Regions from separate parts of the Homo sapiens genome. Here region 2 is linked to region 1. The links are contacts of gene promoters, found by promoter capture Hi-C in human tissues and cell types (Jung and others, 2019). All regions are on one chromosome and are shown on one strand. Each heading gives the region's core, a stretch centred on a gene start or on the middle of the fragment in contact. The rest is flanking DNA. Distances are from core to core; before and after follow the strand shown. Region 1 holds the start of DCLK2 (doublecortin like kinase 2). Region 2 overlaps LRBA (LPS responsive beige-like anchor protein).

Region 1 (5,819 bases), core at 263-2,762:
TCCCCTATGACATGTAAATATATTAAAGTTTGAGAAGAAGCACTGATTTATTTGATTCCTGGTGTTACAGCCTGTGGTTGGAAACTCTGGATATACCTTAGGGGTACTTTTAAAAAAATACTGTTGGAGAAGCCCGTCTCCAGAAATTCTGATTTAACTGATCTAGGTTGAGGCCTTTTAAGGTGGTGGACCTAATGATGCTGCAGGATTTTCCTCTAGAAAAACTACATTGAAGCCTCAGATCAGCTCTGACTTCCTAGCATGCCCCAACCCCGCAGGAAGTTAGGTATGCCCAGGTGTATGCCCAGAACTGCCTTAGGAGTAGTATTGTGCACCGAGCAGGAGACCTTTCTGGAGCTGCCATGAAGGGTGTGTATGCGTGTGTGTGCGTGTGTTTGGTGGGGCGCACCAACTTCACAGATGCTAGACCGTTGCATGTGCTTCTACCTTCTTTTATTCATGCTCTTCCAGGACTCAGTTCAACCCGAAAAAAAGCAACTATGCCTTTCTTCCTGAAAGGTCAGTTTGGATTGCTGTCTAGGGCTGCTCAGAAAACCAGGTGTTGAATGTTCTAAGGTTTCACGTGCCAAATTGGGATCAAACATATTTGAGCTTTATTTTTCCTAATAACAAAATGCAAGTAACTAGTATTTCTCTTAAGTCTTGGAAAAGATGTTTTTATTGTTGAATAGACACTACGGCATTAAGATTTCCACTATGATGGGTGCTCACAAATGATAGGCCTCTTAGGTAAGAAGCTTTAATTGACAACATTAAATATGCGGGGCGGGGGGAGTGGGTGCAGAGTCTCTCTTTCCTTTGTTAGGGCATCCCAGTGACAGAAACAATGCCTGACACATGGTACGCTCTCGATAAATATTCGTTGATTACATAACCCCCTCTACCACCCAATAACTTCTCATCATTCATTCAAAGTTACTGAACGTACCATATTAGCGAATCTGCAATGGAAACAGTGGAGGCTGTTTTCTCAAAGGATTTTCTAATAAAGCAACAAATCTTTTTTAAAAAAAATGAATGGTGTGCCCCAAGTCAATGCTGGGCTTCGGATTTCTGCGGTAGTTTGGCCTGGGGTCCTCACTGGGATGCTGGCTGGGGATGTGCTCCCTGCCCTTGAATCTCCTTCCTTTGTAGTTTTTGGCCTGCGCGGTTACGTTTCCCAGGCGGAGGAGCGCGCGTCGCGGCTGCGCCCATTAACGCGCGGCGCCGGGCAGGAGCCGTCAGGCGGGCGGGGCTGCCCGGGACCCGCAGGAGCTGCTCCTCCCGCGCCGGCGCTCGGCCCCCTCCTCCGCCCCCTCCTCCGCCCCCTCCTCCCCTTCTCCGCGGTTTGGCATCCCCGGGGCCGGGAAGCCTCCTCCAGCGCTGACAGCCTGTCGGCGGCGGAGGGAGGCCAGAGCGCGGATGCTTGCCAGTGGGCCGGGCCTGACCGCTGCGTGGGAGGCGGGCTGCATTATTTCCCGCTAGGGCCGCGCTCCAGGGAAGGAAGGGGCCAGACACGGCCCTCTCAGCCCCGAACGGCGCGCGCTGCCCGGCGGGCGGGATCCGGGCGCGGCCGAGGCGGCGGCGCTGCACCCCGGGCCTGGGCCCGCGCGACTCCCCCGGGGGCCTCTCCCACGCTCCGCGCCCCGCCCCACCCTTCCTTCCTTCCTCCCCTCGGCGCTCCCGGGAGCGCTCGGCAGACGCCCGAGCTTTGTGGGCGCCCGCGGGCCCAGCGCGAGCCTCGGGCGGCCCAACTTTGCCTCTCCCGGTCGGCTCCCGAGCGGGACTTGTGAGGCGTGGCCGGGTGGAGGAGGCGCTTGCGGGGGCGTGGGGCTCCCCGGCAGGCGGGAGGCACGGAGCAAGTCGCACTGGACAATGACCTGGGCAGCTCGGCGCTGCGGACACTTTTAGCTGAGGGCGCGGGCGGGTCGGCTCCTCCGCGGCTCCTCGGCCCCACCTGCGCGGAGAGGGCGGGATGCCAGAGCCAGGTGTCCCGGCGCGTTAAGGGCCCTCGCAGTCAGACGTCCCTGCACCGGCGCTCGCACCCTTAGTCGGCCCGGAACGTCTTTTTGCGGACGCCCTCGGAGCAGCCGCGATGGCCAGCACCAGGAGTATCGAGCTGGAGCACTTTGAGGAACGGGACAAAAGGCCGCGGCCGGGGTCGCGGAGAGGGGCCCCCAGCTCCTCCGGGGGCAGCAGCAGCTCGGGCCCCAAGGGGAACGGGCTCATCCCCAGTCCGGCGCACAGTGCCCACTGCAGCTTCTACCGCACGCGGACCCTGCAGGCCCTCAGCTCGGAGAAGAAGGCCAAGAAGGCGCGCTTCTACCGGAACGGGGACCGCTACTTCAAGGGCCTGGTGTTTGCCATCTCCAGCGACCGCTTCCGGTCCTTCGATGCGCTCCTCATAGAGCTCACCCGCTCCCTGTCGGACAACGTGAACCTGCCCCAGGGTGTCCGCACTATCTACACCATCGACGGCAGCCGGAAGGTCACCAGCCTGGACGAGCTGCTGGAAGGTAGGAGGGGAGGGCGCCGCACGGCAGGTGCGGCGGAGCGCCGGCAGGTGCAGTGGGCGTGAGCCGGCGCAGCGGGGAGCCCGCGGGGTGCTTTCCAAGCCGCACGGGAATTGATGCTTCTGTCTGCTTCTCTAGAGATTGGCTGGGGGTGGGGGCCGGTGGGGTGCCCACATACACACTGACTTTCCTTCCCAAGAGGTTTGTCTCTTAAAGAAGGAAAAAATTTCCTGATGGTCAGGCCAATTTAGGCACTGGTGGCATCTCCTAAGATTGTTGAACTTATTTGTATTGAAGTGCAAACTGTTTGAGAAAATGGTTCTCCCATGGGGAGCTGGGTAATCCCCTACTAATAAGCTCTGTTGGACCCTCGGTGTGGACCCTGGTGCAGGCTCCTGTCATGTTCCAGTATTCGGGGTCCTGTTGTGACTGCTGTCAGAAGCTGTGGTTGTGAAATGCTCTAGGTTGGCTTTCCTAGTTTGCCTTGCAGCAGAAGTTACTTGAGGTGAAGAGGGATGATCCTAGACAGCAGGTCTCAACCTTGGCTTCATCTTGGATCACACTGGGGACTTCGAAAAATATGGGACCCTGATCCCCCAACCCCCAGATATCCTGATTAAATTGGTTGGGTTTGGGGTGTGGGTTAGGCGTCTGGAGTCTCAAAAGCCCCCCCCCCAGGTGATTCTAATGTGGGACCCTGGTTAACAATCACCGTGCTAAAGGGTTTTCCACATTTGGTTGGAAAAAAGGTAAATCAAGGTCAATCTCTCCAGCCTTATCCTCTAATAAGAGTACCTAATTAGAATGATAGAGGCCATTGGATTCAGCAGTGGGGACTTATTAAAAATTAGTAATTCTGCTGTGTCAACCATGCCTCGGTCAAAGAGACTGCTTGGCTGGATGTTGGGTCATCCTTGAATTCCTGCAATACGTATGCCTCATCCTTTTCAGGTAGAAAAGGCATTATCAGTGGTTAAGAACCTGTTTCCAGTTCTAAATAACATCCAGAAAGACCAGGCAGAACCCAGGTATGTGCTGACTGCGTGTTTACATACAGTCCGCTCTTGTGCATCTTTCTTAATGCAAATGGCACATTCCATGTAGTCATAGCAATAGCTTGGCAGGGAGAGGAAGCTGAACATCAAGCCAGATGTTTTTCTTATATTATCTCAGCATGCTTTTCTGTCCTGAAGGCATTATCCCCATTTTATAGATGAGGAAACTTAGGCAGCATGCCTTGCCTCACAGTGCCTGCAGCATATACTTTCTCGTCTACGATTCACCTCTGCTGAGCTAATGGAGCCACATGGAGGAAAACTAAAGGTCGTTGAGTTTGTCTATTTAGTCAGAAGTTTTTGCTGCCCTGCCTAGAACGCGACCCAGCCAAAATTAAATTGTCTCTTCAGTCTACATATGTATGTGCTTGTGACTTCACCCATTCTGTCAGTTGTGTGTTTTGGTTTTAAGGGCTTCTTGAGGAGGTAAGGGGATAGCTGGAGGAGTATAAGTAAAAAAGGAAGATACAATGTTCAAAGGGCCTTGTTGCTTTTCTTAATCATGTTAAACACTTAAAAGCAATATTTGCCTAGCTATTTTAAAACAGAGTAACCAGTTGTTTGACTGACCCAAGATCAGATTTGCAGGATCAAGGCAATGCCTGTTTGCTTAAGCACTTGTTACTCAACATGCCATTGGGATACTACTGTTCCTGGTATGGTTTCTTAAGAGTCAACAATGTTAATATCCTTCTCTAAAGAAATTTTAACAGTGGATTTACTACATAAAATTGACATAACGTAAACATGAATCTCATAGGAGAGATGATAAGATGGACATTATGCATGTCCATTAATAGGAGTACTTAGTATAGATTGCGTCTTTTACCGCCCACCGCATGCATGTCCACTGGGTCTACTTCTGCAACTGTAGTTTCAACTACAAATTGACTTAACAAATTTCCTTCAAATCATTCACTGATTTTTAGTGGATGGGGATTTGGAAAAAACATTATCTATGGAGTCCAAATCATACCAAAATATGATAAATAATATAACAAATAGTTGCACAGCCAAAATTTTTTTTATGACTTTGCCCACTTCTTTGAAGAAGTTTTTAATACAATAAAATTACTGCAAAAGAAGAAAACTTGGACACTTTTTTTGTCATATGGAACTCTCTCTGACAATGGGTCTTTGTTTAATTCTTCAGTTTTCCCCCAAATTAGTAGAATACTCCATAGCAATGCAATTTTTTTTTTAAAGAAAATATAGGTACAATAGTTCACGTCTGTAATCTCAGCACTTTGGGAGACTGAGGTGGGTGGATCACCTGAGGTCAGGAGTTCGAGACCAGCCTGACAAACAAGGTGAAACCCCATCTCTACTTAAAAAAAAAAAAAAAAAATTAGCCGGGTGTGGCGGCAGGCGCCTGCAGTCCCAGCTACTCAGGAGGCTGAGACAGGAGAATTGCTTGAACCCAGGAGGCGGAGGTTGCAGTGAGCCAAGATCACACCACTGCACTCCAGCCTGGGCGATGGAGCAAGACTCTGTCTCAAAAAAAAAAAAAAAAAGAAAAGAAAAAAAGAAAAAGAATCACGAATGCTTACTGTCAATCATTCCAGAATGTAAGTAGTTTCAACTTTTAATTAAAATTGTGTGCTCAGATTTTTCATGTAGGAGAACTAAGCAGCTATCTGTGAAGTTATTTGCATTAGTAAAAATAAGTCTGTAATATATTCACCACATTGTCAAAATTGACTGCTTTATTTCGTTTTGGTTGATTATTTTTAATAAAGCTCTCTCAGGTAGTATTTTACAACATTATGTTCAACTAGGCTCTACTTCTTCGATCCCATGAAACTTGTAGTTTAAGAGGTATGTTTTTTTCTGAAATGTCTTGAGTGAAGAATAGAAAGTGATGACTCAAAACAGTAGGATATGAACATTCATTCAGAGCCCCAATCTCATTGAACTCAGATGACAAAAGAAATTTGCATGGCCCAAATTATTTTTTCTTCTGCCCTTGACCTTGAGAGTCTCTGGAGACTAAAAGCTGTTCTAGTGTGAGCTGGCACTCCTCCAGCACTACACTAAACCAGCAAGCACCTTCAATTTATTGATTTATCCATCCTTGCTGGATTAAGTTTGAGTTGATGCTGTGCAGTCCTGTAATCCTGTTTATTCTTTAAAACTAGTTGGGGGACCTCTTCCGGCAGGACTGTGGCTCTTAATCAATATTGGAAAAATTAGTTGAGCTGTCTTAAGCTGTGAGCCTGCTGAGCTCAGTATCTGTAATAACCAACAGAGA
Region 2 (6,670 bases), core at 1,671-4,170, 320 kb after region 1:
ACACAATTGTACTGCCCATTTGCAAGATATATTTATCAGCAGTGTATCAAATGTATAAAAAAGTGATAGGGAGACTAGAAGGACGTTATTACCATAGTTCATATAAGAGATAAGAAAGGCTACTGTGGTAAAAATGAGCCAGCAGAGTTAGGAAAAGATGTTCTAATTACTTCAATCAATTATATGCTAATATTATCTATTACTAAAGAAGATAAAAATGGGATTAAGTGTACATAATAGAATTATCATCTATCCTATTATTTACCTTAATATATTTAAATTCCATATTAATATATTTACTGTAACATGTCTAAAACTGAATTTATCTTCCTCAAAGAACTTATCTTTTCCTCTTTCTGTAATGCCTATTTCAATTGTTAGTATGACAATTCATGCAGTAACTTTAGTTAAAAATCTCAATATTATCTTCAACTTCTTCCCCTTATGTTCTTTATGACTCTGATATGTCTCTAGAATCTAGAATGTCTTCTCTGTCCTCTCTGTCATTGTTTTAACTAAGGTCATCATCTCCTGCTTAATTTCCTTTAACTGTTATGGCCTCCTAATTGATTTTCCTGTCTCCATTCTTTCCTAGCTTGAGTCCGATACTCACACTGCCATCTTCCTAATGAATAAATTAAATATAATTATATCATTCCCATGTCTTTTTAGCAGTTCCTGGCTGTCTGTAAGAGAAAGTACCAACTCCTCAGCAAGGTATAAATGCCTCTTCATAAATGTGACCTCAACTTAACCTCCCAAGCCTCATCCCTGGCTATTCTTTCCCAAGAAACCTATGCAATGGCCATACAAAAAATTCCATTATCTTAATCTTTTCCTATACTATAAGCTTATTCATTTCATATGGCACTTGTCAAATATCAGTGTCTGGGAAAGGTTTGAGTGAACATTTTTAATCAATTGCTATTTAGTAAATAAACCAACAATCTTTCAGTACAATCTACAGTATTCTACTGGTAATTGATTCTCTAGAATTGAAAAAAAAATTTCCCTCAGCATCTTTCCCCCGTAGACTATTATGATGATTAATTTTGTGTCAACTTGAGTGGGCTGCGGGATGCCCAGATAGCTGGTAAGACATTATTTCTGAGAATGTCTGTGAGGGTGTTTCCAGAAAAGGTTAGCATCTGAATCAGCACACTAAACAAAGAAGATCCACTCTCACTAACATGGGCAGGTATCATCCAATCCAATGAGTACCAGAACAGAATAAAAAAGCAGAAGGATGAATTCCCTCCACCCACTCCTTGAGTTGAGACACCCATCTTCTCTTGCCCTTAGGCATTAGAGCTCCTGGTCTGTGAGTCTTCAGACTCAGGGACTTACACCAGTGCCCTACTCCTGGGAATTTAGGCCTTTGGCATCAGACTGGGAGTTACACCATTGGTTCCCCTGGTTCTTAAGACTTCACACTTGGGCTGAATTGTACCACCAGCCTCTGGGTCTCTAGCTTGAATATGGCATACTGTGGTGCTTCTCAGCCCCCATAATCACACATGCCAATTCCCATAATAAATCTCATCTCACACACACACACACACACACACACACACGTACTCCCAGAAATAATGTTTATCACTTATCCTGGCATCCCTCAACCCACTCAAGCTGGCATATAAAATTAACCATAATAGTAGTCTACAGGGAAAAGCTATTGAGGGAAAATTCTTTTCAATCACTCTAGAGAATCAACTAGTAGTAGAATACGAATGTATTGGTTTATTTACTAATTAGAGATTGATGAAAAATGTTTGCTCACAAGCCTTTCCCAGGTACTGACACTTGACAAGTGCCATATGAAATGAATAAACTTATAGTCTAGAAAAAATAGGAAATGATTAGGACAATGAATTTTCTATATGGCTGTGGCATAGGTTTCTTTTATTATACAAACACTCACACACATAAACATATATAGATGTTATTGGCTCTGATTCTCTGGGAAATCTTAATACAACTACAAAACTTTATTTGCCACTTGTTCCCACTTTCAAAACACAATTTACTATTTATTTCCATTATTAAAAATAATAACTAATCATTAAAAACATTTGAAAAGCAACGGAAAGAGAAAAGCAAAAAAACACTGACGCTTTAAGACACTGGAGTAGGTGTATGTCCTTGTAATGTTTTTATTACATTGAGATATCATACACATAAACACATCTTATATACTACATTTTTATATCCTAAATTTTTCTTTTCTCCGAATTCTAAAATAAAATAAATTTTCATATTTTTTCTGATGAAAAGTGAAAAATGAAAGTAATTTTCCTCTCATTAAGTGCATATTTTCATACAATGTACGATACAAAAAGGTATTCATTTTTTTCTTTTTTGAAGACAGGGTCTTGCTCTGTTGCCTGGTCTGGAGTGCAGTGACACAATCAGGGTTTGCTGCAGCCTCAGCCTCCCAGGCTCAAGCATCCTTCTGCCTCAGGCTCCCAAGTAGCTGGGACTACAGGCACATGACACCATGCCCAGCTAATATTTTTACTTTTTGTAGAGATGGGGTCTTACTATGTTGTCCAAGCTAGCTTCAAACTCCCAGGCTCAAGCAATCCTCCTCCCTTGGCCTCCCAAAGCACTGGGATTATAGATATGTGCCACCATGCCAGGCCTAAGAATGTATTCTTAAAATAGGTATGGTCTCATTTGTACAACTAAAACTTATTAAAACATATGCAGTAGTATAATTTTATCATAGGAAGTATAATGTAGAGTATAACAACACAGGTTTCTTGCACTGGAATCCCAGTTCAATATTTATGATTGCTGTGACAAGTTACCTAAACTCACAAGTTACCTAAACTCTCTATGCCTCAAGTTTCTAATCTACAGGTTGAGAGTAATAATAGCACTTACCTCATAAACTTATTGTGAGACCTAGATGAGTTAATCCATAAATGGCTTACAACAATGTCTGGTGCATATTATTAAGTGTTCAACGCACGACAGCTCTTATTATCCTTCTAAAAATCTAAAGTTTAATGAACAAAATCCCATTAAACAAAGCGAAATATAAATTTTGTCTATTGAAAATATGTTGCACAGTGAGCATTACAAAAATAATTACATATATATTTTAGTATCTTCTCTAGCACAGAAAAAAAGTAGAAAGAAGAAAATAAGGGATCATGAGATCCTGGCAAGAGTTTTTCTCCACAGACATTCTGTTGGTGGAATAGAAATATGTGAGATGGTGAATGGAACAGATCTAAATAAGCATGGGACTAACAAAGTACAATGTATGAAAGATTTTACTTAGAAAAAACAATTACAAATTGACTATACAATCAATAAGACTAACCGAAGGGAAATGCAGTAAAACACTTTCAAAGAAAAATACTGTGGAGCCCAGAAGAAAATAAGCCAATTGACAGAGGTAGATTTCACGAGCTCATAAAAATGAAAAAGTAAATGCTGCTGGACAAAAAGTGGTCCTTACTTTTGCTCTCAATGTTTCTAGTATGCTATGTAGAACAATTATTTTGCTTTTACTGAAAAATAACTATTGCATTTGGTATAAAACGATTCATAGGAAAAATTATTTTTTACTTCTGAATAATTAATGTATTTCTTAAGTAATAGAGGAAACTATTAATTAAGAGGCATTCATGAAGGTGGATATCTTACACCTAAACATTTTAGACTTGTTTTCCAATTTTCTTTCTTTCTTTTTTTTTTTGAGACAAGGTCTTGCTCTGTCACCCAGGCTGGAGTGTAGTAGTGCCATCACAGCTCACTGCAGCCTCTACTTACTGGGCTCAAGTGATCATCCCACATCAGCCTCCCATGTAGATGGAACTACCGGCATGTGCTACCACACCTAGATAAGTTTTTTTGTTTTTTGTAGAGACAGAGTCTTGCTGTGTTGTTCAGGCTGGTCTCAAACTCCTGGGCTCAAGCAATCCTCTGCTTTAGCCTCCCAGAGTGCCGGGATTTACAGGTGTGAGCCACCATGCCCAGCCCTTTTCAATATTGTTTTTGAAAATTCCATCCTATACTGCCAAATATAAATATATCCCAAGAAATTAAAATACAGAAAATTAAATTGCAAAGAAAATATGGTTGCAGAATTCTTGCAATTTAATTTTAGTAAATTCTTTATCTTTTTTATTAACATACCTTAAAATTGCTATGCACATATTTTCTGTCTCAGTTATGTACTCAACTAGAAATTACCTTTACTTAACTACCTGTATTTTATTGAAATACTGTGCCCATCCTGCATGGACTATTTTGCGTCACTTATTTTATGAATATCACTATTGGATATGCTCTTTTGCACCAATAGACTCTTATTCAGGTATGACACACAGAGACACAAAATGCTAAATTCTCCTTTCCTGTGACCATGGCAGAAACTACTAATCAATATTCTTGGGCAAAGTTGGTTCTCAAGATGCTCAAGCTCTGCTGTTGTCATAAAGCATTTTGGTTCTCTTCTGATACTTTTTGAAGACTCATCCATTTTTCATTCTTTCAGCAAACATGACCATGATACCCCATATAGACCAGATATTGTGCTACAGTTGCGAAAACAAAGAATAAGAGAGGTCCTCAAGCGGCTCAACATCTCATGGTGAAAATGAGATGCTGAGCCACCACTAACATGCTAGCTGTTAAGTATGTCCACTTAAAAGAGAACACAGGAGAAACATCTCAGGCGGACTCTGTTGGCGTGGTTGGTGGTGAGGGAATGTTGAAGAGTGGATAGAGGTATAATTAAAGGCTTTCTGGATGGCGTGGTGGCTTATATGAGTAGTCCCAGCACTTTGGGTGGGATTACAGCACTTGAGGTCAAGAGCTGGAGATGTGCCTGGCCAATATGGTGAAACCCCGTCTCTACTAAAAATACAAAAATTAGCAGCTGAGTGTGGTAGTGTGGCGCCTGTAATGCCAGCTACACGGGAGGCTGAGGCATGAGAATCACTTGAACTCAGGAGGTGGAAGTTTCAGTGGGCGGAGATCGCACCACTGCACTCCAGCCAGGGTGATGAAGTGAGACTCTGTCAATCAAACAATCAATCAATCAATCAATCAAGGCTTCCCAAGGGGGAGGAATCTGGCATTTTTGTAGGCAAAGGAAACAGCTTATAAGATGTGAGAGAACACAGCCATTTTAGAGAAGTGTACATTGTTCAGTGTTACTGGACTATAGTTTTCAAGAGATGAAGTTGGGGAAGTAAGCAGGTAAATTGTGAAGATCATTCCAAGTCATGTTGTAAAGCTGGGAAAGCTATAAGTAACCACTGAAGAATTTTAAGCAGTATTTGTGAGAGCCTCCAATTTAGGGAGTATCCAATTTATAAATATCTTCATATAGTTTAAAAAGAAATAGTTATTTTATGTGGTTTCCTATGGCACCAACTAGAATGTTTCTGGGATGATCCAGAAACATGTACAAGTGATCTGCTGCTGAGATGCAGATTATATTTCTTCAAAAAAACCTGGATCAAAAATTTTGTCGTTTTACTTTTAAAACGAATTTGAGTCAGAATCCATTATATATTATTCTCTGGTGTAGAGCATAATGGAATAACTATAATACAGCTCAATAAAAATGAAAACAAGAGGATATCATAAAAAGACGGTTTCAAAGAACATTTTGAGGCCAAGTGCAGTGGCTCATGCCTGTAATCCCAGCACTTTGGGAGGACAAGGAGGGAGGATGGCTTGAAGCCAGGAGTTTGAGACCAGCCTGAGCAAACATTAGGAGACCCCCATCTTCACAAAAAATAAAATTAGCTAGATGTGGTGGCATGTGCCTATAGTTCTAGCTACTCGAGAAGCTCACTTGACTCCAGGAGTTTGAGACTGTAGTAGGCTATGATCAGCCACTGCACTCCAGCCTGGTGACAATGAGATGCTGTCTTAAAATTAAAAAAATAATAAAAAAAGAAGTTTTCTTTCAAAAAGACAGAACAAGTAGTTGAGTGAGTGTTATGGGTTGAGCTGTGTCCCCTCCAACACAACTCCATATGTTGGAGTCTTAAACTCCAGTACCTCAAAATGAGATTGGAGATAGGTTATTTACAGAGGTAAACAGGTTAAAATGAAGTCATTTGGATGTTCCCTAATCCAATATGACTGGTGTCTTTATAGAAAGGGGAAAATGTGGACACAGAGACAGATATGCACACAGGGAGAACACCTTGTGAAGACCGAGGTTACACTGCTGCAATTGAAGGACCTATCAGAAGCTCGGAGAGAGGCCTGGAACAGATCCTTCTCTATCGCCTTCAGCGGGAGAATGGCCCTGCTGACTCCATGATCTCAGACTTAAAGCCTCCAGTACTGTCAGACAATAAACGTATGTTGTTTAAGCCATGCAGTTTGTGGGACAGTAATTATTCACTTAACATTGTCAACAGGTTCTTGGAAACTGTGACTTTAAGTAAAATGACACATAAGGAAAGCAATTTTTTTCCGATAACATCATAACTAAATGACATTATCTGAGAACCTATTGTAATTATTTCACTTAAAGTCCCAGTTTCCAAGAACTTATCCATGATGTTAAGTGAGGACTTACTATACTTTGTAATGGCAGCCCTAGGAAACTAATACAAGTAGGGTTACAGGAGAAGTAACTTCTAAGAATTTACATGGCAACTAAAAGCAGTAACTTACCCTAGACTGGATC

Evidence for each region. Contacts are between HindIII fragments. The study calls those that stand out against the background at their distance.
Region 2: a fragment that was not itself captured here is called in contact with the fragment with the promoter of DCLK2 in region 1 in 1 of the 25 tissues and cell types used here (mesendoderm cells).

The regions. Positions count from the first base shown.
Region 1 is chr4:150,076,933-150,082,751 of GRCh38, forward strand. DCLK2 (doublecortin like kinase 2) reads left to right here and starts at 1,513. Exons shown (of 16, transcript NM_001040260.4): 1 at 1,513-2,516. The coding sequence starts at 2,096. The HindIII fragment of the contact is 8,036 bases long and covers 1-5,819 here.
Region 2 is chr4:150,394,936-150,401,605 of GRCh38, forward strand. The region is part of intron 47 of LRBA (LPS responsive beige-like anchor protein); the gene reads right to left. Among named protein-coding and RNA genes, the nearest start is that of LRBA-AS1, 180 kb to the right of the region's middle. The HindIII fragment of the contact is 5,133 bases long and covers 355-5,487 here.